Regions from separate parts of the Homo sapiens genome. Here region 2 is linked to region 1. The links are contacts of gene promoters, found by promoter capture Hi-C in blood cells and fetal thymus (Javierre and others, 2016). All regions are on one chromosome and are shown on one strand. The core of a region is centred on a gene start or on the middle of the fragment in contact, and the rest is flanking DNA. Distances in the headings are between cores, read along the strand shown. Region 1 holds the start of SREBF1 (sterol regulatory element binding transcription factor 1). Region 2 overlaps RAI1 (retinoic acid induced 1).

The links. Contacts are between HindIII fragments. The CHiCAGO score rates a contact against its expected background, and 5 or more counts as called.
Region 2: a contact is called between a fragment that was not itself captured here and the fragment with the promoter of SREBF1 in region 1, in 1 of 17 cell types (naive CD8 T cells). The highest score is 5.1, in naive CD8 T cells.

Annotation. Positions count from the first base shown.
Region 1 is chr17:17,835,146-17,839,072 of GRCh38, reverse strand. It overlaps SREBF1 (sterol regulatory element binding transcription factor 1), which reads left to right and starts at 2,087. Exons shown (of 19, transcript NM_004176.5): 1 at 2,087-2,346. The coding sequence starts at 2,256. RefSeq lists enhancers at 506-1,407, 1,408-2,310, 2,311-3,212 and silencers at 2,079-2,238, 2,429-2,708. The HindIII fragment of the contact is 13,614 bases long and covers 1-3,640 here.
Region 2 is chr17:17,741,060-17,745,148 of GRCh38, reverse strand. All of the region lies in intron 2 of RAI1 (retinoic acid induced 1), which reads right to left. Among named protein-coding and RNA genes, the nearest start is that of RAI1-AS1, 23 kb to the left of the region's middle. RefSeq lists an enhancer at 1,587-2,088. The HindIII fragment of the contact is 5,638 bases long and covers 1-4,089 here.

The DNA of each region.
Region 1 (3,927 bases), core at 838-3,337:
CTCACACTTGCAATCCCAGCACTTTGGGGGGGCCGAGGTAGGTGGATCACCTAAGGTCAGGAGTTCAAGACCAGCCTGGCCAAAATGGTGAAACCTCATCTCTACTAAAAATACAAAAATTAGCCTGGCATGGTGGCGTGCGCCTGTAATCCCAGCTACTCAGGAGGCTGAGACAGAATTGCTTGAACCTGGGAGGTGGAGGTCGCAGTGAGCCGAGATCATGCCGCTGCACTCCAGCCTGGGTGACAGAGAGAGACTTTGTCTCAAAACAAAAAACAAAACAAAACAAAACAAAAAACAGTGAGGCAGATCTGTTGTGATGATGACTCCAAAACACCCTCCCTGCCTCTGCAGAGGGACTGCAGAAAGGGTTATTCCCATTTTATAGATACAGTAGCTGAGACTCAGAAGTGAGGTATTGGATCCAGGTCACACAGCAAGCAGGTGAAAACCCAGATCACCTGCCTAGCTCTGAAGAAAATGGTATTTAGGCTTCACCCAGCACTTCCTATCCCACCCCCTCCCTGGGAAGGGCTGTTTAAATTTTCAGGGAAGTCACCAGCTTCCTGCAGCCTCTAGAGTGTTGGTGGGGGTGGGGCACTGAGGAGAAGCCAGCTTTGTTCTCTGTGTTCTCCAGCAGTTGTTCATCTGGAGGGAGTGGGTCCTGGGTGGACCCTTGAGCAGGGCTACTTGGGGAGATGTGGTTTGGCGACCCCTATGACTTCTGGCGCCGCTATTCTGGGTAATTTTCCACCGCAGCCACTTCTGGGAGAGGAACAAAGGGAGCTGGATGTCCAGGCTGAGCCCCAGGGACTTGGGCTCTGTGGCTTCTCTCCCCCACACACCCCTTCTAAAATGCATCATGAATGTTACTCCTGCTTAGGGCGTGGCCAGATAGGCTATATCTGGAGTTTGAGCAAGGCAGTCTGCAGGATGGCTTGACTTATGAAGGTCTGGGGTCGGGAAGGCCTGAGGCCCAGGCCCCTGATGAGTTTCCTGGACTGCCCTCCACCAAGGGTGCTTCTCTCTGCTTGCATACCTCTGGGGACAGGGAGCTCACTGCCTTATCACATTCAGATTCCTGAATGTTAATTCTGGTTTATTTCAACCCACCTCATTGGGACCCCTTCCCTCCTTCCTGCCCCACCTGGCTCTGTCCCTAGGCCACAGAACCAGGTTCGGTTTCCAGCCCTCTTCTCAACAGGGCTGCCTGCTCTGATCTAGTCCCAGCTTGTGATGATCCAGGGCAGCCTGGCTCTGATCTAAAGCACAGCTACCTCTTCCTTGCGGCCCCTATCCTGGCTGCTCCTGGGAATAAGTGCCAAATCTGGGGTCAGACAGCCCTGGGGCCAGTCTTCCTTGGGTACTGGCTTCCTCCTTCAGGAGCTGCACTGGGCCCACTGGTATCCTATCCCTACAGCTGGATCTGGGAGGAAACCAGATGACGAAATTCCAGCCTCTTTCTTTGGCCACTCCTGTCCTCAAGAGGCCAATCTTCTGGTTTCTTTGCAGAGAGGGGGCAGGCTGATCTCACAGGTCATGCTCCCCTCCACATTGTCACTAGCCTCCCAGCCTGCCCGTGAGAAAGCATCATTAGGCCCATGTTACAAATGAGGAAAATTGAGGCAGAGTGATGTAACTGGCCCAGCAGTTACATCAGGCCTGCTCACAACACAGCAGGCCTGGGACCCCTATAACTTGGATCCTGGTCTGTCTTGTTCTAAAGAGTCAAATCTAGGAAATGAGGAAATGAAGTTTGGGATGGGCCCAGGCCTGGGGCTTCCACTCGGCTTCCTTGCTTGGTGCTGGAGAAACAGAGGCCCAGAGAGGGGGCTCGGCTTGCCCGCGTTCCCGCAGCAGCCGGCCAGAGGCCGCTGCCATTGTGCGCGAGGCTGGATAAAATGAATGACTGGAGGGCGCTCTGGAGGAGGGGCCGGCTGAGGGGAGATTTGTGGCGCAGACCGGGGATCAGGGGTCCCCCGCTCTCTCAAGGTGGGGCGGGGCCGTCTATCTGGGAGGGCGGGTCCTCCCCGAAAGGCCCCGCCTCCGCCTCGACCGCCCAGCAGAGCTGCGGCCGGGGGAACCCAGTTTCCGAGGAACTTTTCGCCGGCGCCGGGCCGCCTCTGAGGCCAGGGCAGGACACGAACGCGCGGAGCGGCGGCGGCGACTGAGAGCCGGGGCCGCGGCGGCGCTCCCTAGGAAGGGCCGTACGAGGCGGCGGGCCCGGCGGGCCTCCCGGAGGAGGCGGCTGCGCCATGGACGAGCCACCCTTCAGCGAGGCGGCTTTGGAGCAGGCGCTGGGCGAGCCGTGCGATCTGGACGCGGCGCTGCTGACCGACATCGAAGGTGCGTCAGGGCGGGCAGGGCTTGAAGCTGCGCCGGGTGGCGCGAGTAGGGGGCGCGCAGGTGTCTCCCTGGCCTTTGTCTCCCCCACGGGCGCCAGCTCCGTGCTGTGCTCGCGCGGGACTTCCCGGTGTCTCTGAGCTCGGTGTCCCGAGCCTCACCGAGCCTCCCTGGTTCCCGCGCTAGCGTCTCGGGCCGCGCGCTTGTGGGTGAGGGCTCCTGGGCCGGGCCGGGGTCCCTTGGCGGCTCCGGGCCGGGACACGTGCGCCTCTACGCGTCCCAGGCCGGGTGCCGCCCGACCGGTGACTCTCCAGCCCTGTGATGGCCACGGCTGAAGCTGGGGACCCAGGCGTCGCCGAAGCTCCGCCCCAGCCCCAGCCGTGACGTAATTGCGAGGTTACTCACGGTCATTCCCTCCGGCCCGAGAGTTCAGCTCGGCGTCGGAGCTCTTGCGCATGCGCATGGGCGCTGCCTCGCGCCCTTCCCCCGCCTCGTGTCGGGTTCTCCCGGTCTGCGACGGGCACAGCCTCCGCACTCATTCACTGACATCCACCGAATGCCAGGCCCCGTCTTAGGCACCGAGGGTTTACAGACAGACCTGGGTACCCCCTCTTTTAGGGAACACAAAAATCTCCCGGGAAACCAAACGGGTATTTAGTTGTACCTTGGGTGGAGCGAGGCTGGGGGAGGGCAGGGATGTGGCTACTTTGGGTAGAGCGGTCAGGGACTTCTAAGCTGAGACCTGAGGGTCACCCCCAGGACCAGCAAGGAAAGATGTTTTCCAGGCCACGGCAAGGGAAGGGCAAAGGCCTCGAGGCAGGGCCTAAGTGTGAGGAGTTAGAGGCTTGCAAAGGAGTGAGGTCAGGGAGGAGGAGGACGCAAACCGACTTGGTCGGCCAGGGAAAGGGCGGAGCAGAACAGTGGCACCGGCTTCCATCTTTGGAGCATCACCCTGGCTGTGATGAGAAGGGGTTTGGGGCCAATGGTGGCACCAAGTGCCAATTAGGAGGCCCGTTGCTTCCATTTTGTAGATAGAGCAAACGGAAGCCCCTAGCAAATTGCCTGCATGGTTTCTGTGCAGGAGTTTTAGCAGCACTAGCTAAGTTGCACTTGGTTGATGAGGAAACTGAGGCCAAGGTCGCAGGAACAAGATGCCTAGACTCACAGCCTGAATGGACATGTCCATGGAACCCGTGGCCACCCTGGGGTTGGCAAAACAGATATATCTATGCCACCACCACTCCTGCCCTACTGCAGCCTTGCAGATGAGCCCAGCTGGTTGCCAGCCCCAGAAGCTTCCCAGCCCTCCCTCCTTCCCCCTGGGGCTGGGCTAGGGGAGGACCCCAGAGGAGAGGCCCTGATTGTGAGGCTTTTCCAAAACAGCCTCCCCTATCCCTGGCACGAGGGGTTGTCCTTCACTGCCCTCTGGAGTGATGAACCCTGAAATCCCAAGCCCTAGGGAGATCTGGGCCTGACTCAACTACCAGTTCCACATCACTGGGCCCAGTGAGTGTAGTCCCAAGAGGCAACGTGACCAAGCCAGGAGGACATGCGCTTTGGGGTCAGAACTTGAACCTGGACACT
Region 2 (4,089 bases), core at 1,491-3,990, 95 kb after region 1:
CCCGATCCCCATTCCCTGTCCTGCCAACCCACAGTTAGTTCCCTCCTTTGTGGACCCTCTTCCATCATCACTTTACAGGCCCACTCCCCATGGAGGGGTCATTTATCAGCTTAGGGGTCAGTCTCCCCACCAGGACTGTGAGAGCCCCTAACAGCAGGGCTCAAGGTCTGAAATCCTCGGGGTTCAGCACACAGTAGGTACACAGTAAAGATTTAATTGTGTATGTAAATGCCCACAAACAGAGTCAAAGACTCAGATTACACTAGTAAAAGTAAAGACCTCTAGGGAAGCCTAGACAGGAACTCTGACCTGTTTATGTGCCTCTACAGTTTTCCTTTTTTTTTTTTTTTTTTTTTTTTGAGACGGAGTCTCAACCTGTCACCCAGGCTGGAGTGCAGTGGCACAATCTCGGCTCACTGCAACCTCCACCTCCTGCGTTCAAGAGATTCTCCTGCCTCAGCCTCCTGAGTAGCTGGGATTACAGGTGCGCACCATCACGCCCGGCTAATTTTTGTATTTTTAGTAAGACAGGGTTTCACCATGTTGGTCAGGCTGGTCTCGAACTCCTGACCTCGTGATCTGTCCGCCTCGGCCTCCCAAAGTGCTGGAATTACAGGCGTGAGCCACCCACCGTGCCCGGCCTTCCCTTCTTTATTTACAACCATTTCCTTTCTTTTGGAATTAAAAAATGATTTTGAATGAAAACCACGCCAAGGCTGCCCCTGACAAACTGCCTGCTATTTCTGTGAACCAGTTCTGTGTGGGGCCTTGCCTTTCTGGCTACTGACCCTCATGGCCACCCTGAGGGTACAGAAATGGCTGGACCCACTTTACAGAACAGCAGACTGAGGCTCTTAGCAGGGAAGGGCCACCCAGGGCAGATGGGCTGGTGTTTGAACCCTAGGGGAACCCGAACCCCATGCTACCCCCTGGCCTCCCCCAGGCAAGCTGGGAATTAATGACGAAGAGGGGTGATACTGGCAATCCCACAGGGAGTCCTAGGTGGACAAGTCCCAAATCTGTTCCTCCTCAGGCGTCCCCGTATGCACCAGTGCCACCATTCACACAGTCACTCAGGTCTGTAGGCAAAGCCTCTTAAATACTGTGTGGCCAGAACTGTGCAAAAAAATGCAATGACTGTCTCACAGCCCAAACCAGAATCGGGCAGACAGAGCTCCTGCTGGTCTCCCCTCCATTCCCTTTTAGCTCCCCTCCCTGCCCTGAGCCTGCCCGCTCTCCTACGGCCCAGCCAGGGGCTGCAGAGTGGATCCGGGCTCCATGCAGCCTAAAAGATGTCCTTGGCCCTCCTATGCCTCATGCCAGTTCCTGATCCTGGAAGGGATCCATGGCAGCCAAGAGGCTAGTAACAATTCAGATTCCCAGGCCACCTCTAAGGATTGAGATTAAGTCAGGTCCTAGGACGGGAGCCGTGCATGTGCCCAACCAGCCAAATCCTGGGCTGCTCCTACATTTGCCAGCTGAGCTTCAGAGACCTGGTGCCTGCCCATTGGGGTCAGGAGGCAGCCCCAGAGAAACCACGTGTGTGGGGTCTGCTGCGCACATGTCCTGGAGTTTCCAGTGGCATACACCAGTCTGAAGGAGGCTGGATACCAGCAGTGATGGGCTGCTGCGGGCAGGGGCAGCGACTGGGCTCCTGGACGCTGCCACTCAGGGGCCTCCACACCCCTCTGGAACCGTGTGTTCCTGCGCCCTGGGGGCCTGGCATATAGTATGGCACAAGCAATGCTTAGGATGTGGAACCAAGCATAGCACTGGGTACAGATTCCTCCCAAATCACAAAGGCTACCATTTATCAAGTGCCTACCCATGGTGAGTGTTCTGCCTTCAGGATCTTGTTTAAAACTGGGGCTGGGGTGTGAGCCCATTGGGAGGCACTCTGGGAGGCCAAGGCAAGAGGATCACATGAACCCAGGAGTTGGAGACCAGCCTGGGCAACATAGTGAGATCCCACCTCTACCAAAAAATTAAAAATTAGCCGGGTATGTTGGCATGTGACTGTAAGTCCCAACTACTCGGGAGGCTAAGGTGGAAGGATGGTTTGAGCCTGGGAGGTTGAGGCTATGGTGAGCTGTGATCATGTCACTGCACTCCAGCCTGGGCTGCAGAGGGAGACCCTGTCTCAAAAATCAATAAATCAGGGACTGGAATGAAGGGAGTTGTAATAGCAAAAATGTTTTCCTACATTCACCCCACAGAGACTTACATAAATACCTGGCTCCTGTTCCCAGGTTGGAGAGCAGGAAGGGACACTCTGCAGCCCAGGGAGGTCTGAACCACATCCAGATCTCACTGGGGACAGGGATGGCCGAGGGGCCCCATAGGGTTGTAGAACAGTGCGTGTGCAAGGACCCCCAAACCAGATAAGAAATGCAGGGGATTCCCAGAGCCTGGAGGAAGGTCTAAAGGACCTTCTAAGGGTGCCCACCCTTGGCTCTGGGGGACTCAGGTGTGGGACAGCATGGACATGAACTTGCGACTTCACACACTTCTCTCTCTCTCTCTCTTTTAAAACGAGTGCATATTATTTGTTAAAAGCAGAGGGGATATTATTTTTGGCAAAGTTTCCAGTGAATTCAGTGCCAGAGCTTAGGGAGAGTGGGGTTGGTTGGAGGTTAGTCCTTCCAGATAGATAGTTTCAGACTCTGGAGAACATTCATTCCTTTATTCATTCATTCATTCACTCGTTCATTCATTCATTCATTCATTCATTCAAACCAAGATCTGACCCTCTGAGCAACTTGCCTGCTACCTCAGGCCTCGGCAGTAAGAATTCCTTCATTCATTCCACAAATATTCATTAAGTGTCTATTGTGAGTCTTGGGAGCCTCTGCCAGCCCTGTCTGTGGTGAGCCTGGAACCATGATCAGAGGCTGGGCTGGGAGTGGACAGGCCAGGGTGGGGCAAGCAGGGCAAAGCCATGTGGCACTGCCTGGCATCTGCTGTGGGCCCTGACGTCCCTGCCCCTTGACTCCTGAATATCATCACCCGTGGCCACAGAAGCCCACCTCCCACCCCAGAGCCGGCAGGCACCCAAGACGGGAATTATGGTCTCCACAAGAGACACTGACATGAAGCTGGTTACTGCCTTTTCAGCAAACGTAATTCCTTTTTATTAGAAAATTAAAGGGTAGGACCAGCTTGCCAAAAGCCAAAAGAGCTGAAATGTGCTTTCCTAAGATATGCAGCGTCTGATAAAACGGATTTACCCATCTCCCTCCTGTTCTATCGTCATCTCCCTCACCCAGTCTCTCCTCCATTCATTCCCCTTCCACTGGCACCGAAGCAACGGCCGTGAGCTTGGCCCTGGCCGACAGGCCCAGCACCCTGGATGTGGGGAGTGTGCTTTTGTTTCCTTCATGCTGAGCCCCACTCCCGGGCTTTAAGCCTTTTTAGAACCACCTCGGGGATTCTCTTGCTTTCCTGAGACGCAAAGGCTGCCTGTGGCCTCTGCTAAGCTGAGGGTGTCAGGAGGGGAAAGGCAGGAACAATAAAGGATTGAGCTCCCGGAGAAACAAGCTCATCCATCTGGAGACCCAGGAGCAGGCAGTTCCAGACAGAGCCAGCTGAGGGAGGCGGCCAGGGCAGAGAGCCGAGGACGAGTCCCGCACTGCCACACAAAAAGCAACTATTCAAAACCACCCAGGGAGTTCTCTCTTATTGAAAAGTCCTTGATTCTTCCCTTTCTGTGGCAGAACTCATGAACAAGGGCCCCGTCTTATTAATGGGGTGATGGAGGGGCCCGGGAGGGAGGGTCCCCCTGCTCAGGAAGGTGGCCGAGCCCGCCCTGCGAGTCATTAGGAGCTGGTAACTAAGGTAACTCCAGAATCGGATTTTCTTCCCACTAATCTCTCTTTTTCTCTTTTCCTTTCTCTCTCTTTTTTTCTCTGCTGGTCAGATGCTACCTTCCTGGTTTAGAGGGGACTCAGGAGGGTGGTGGGGAGAGACGGAAAGAAAGGCGTGCGTGTACGTGTGCGCTTAAGTGTGTGAGTGTGAGCGTGCGTGTGTGCGTGCGCGAGTGTGTGTGTGTGTGTGTGTGCGCGCGCGCTTGTGCTGAATACTAACATGGTC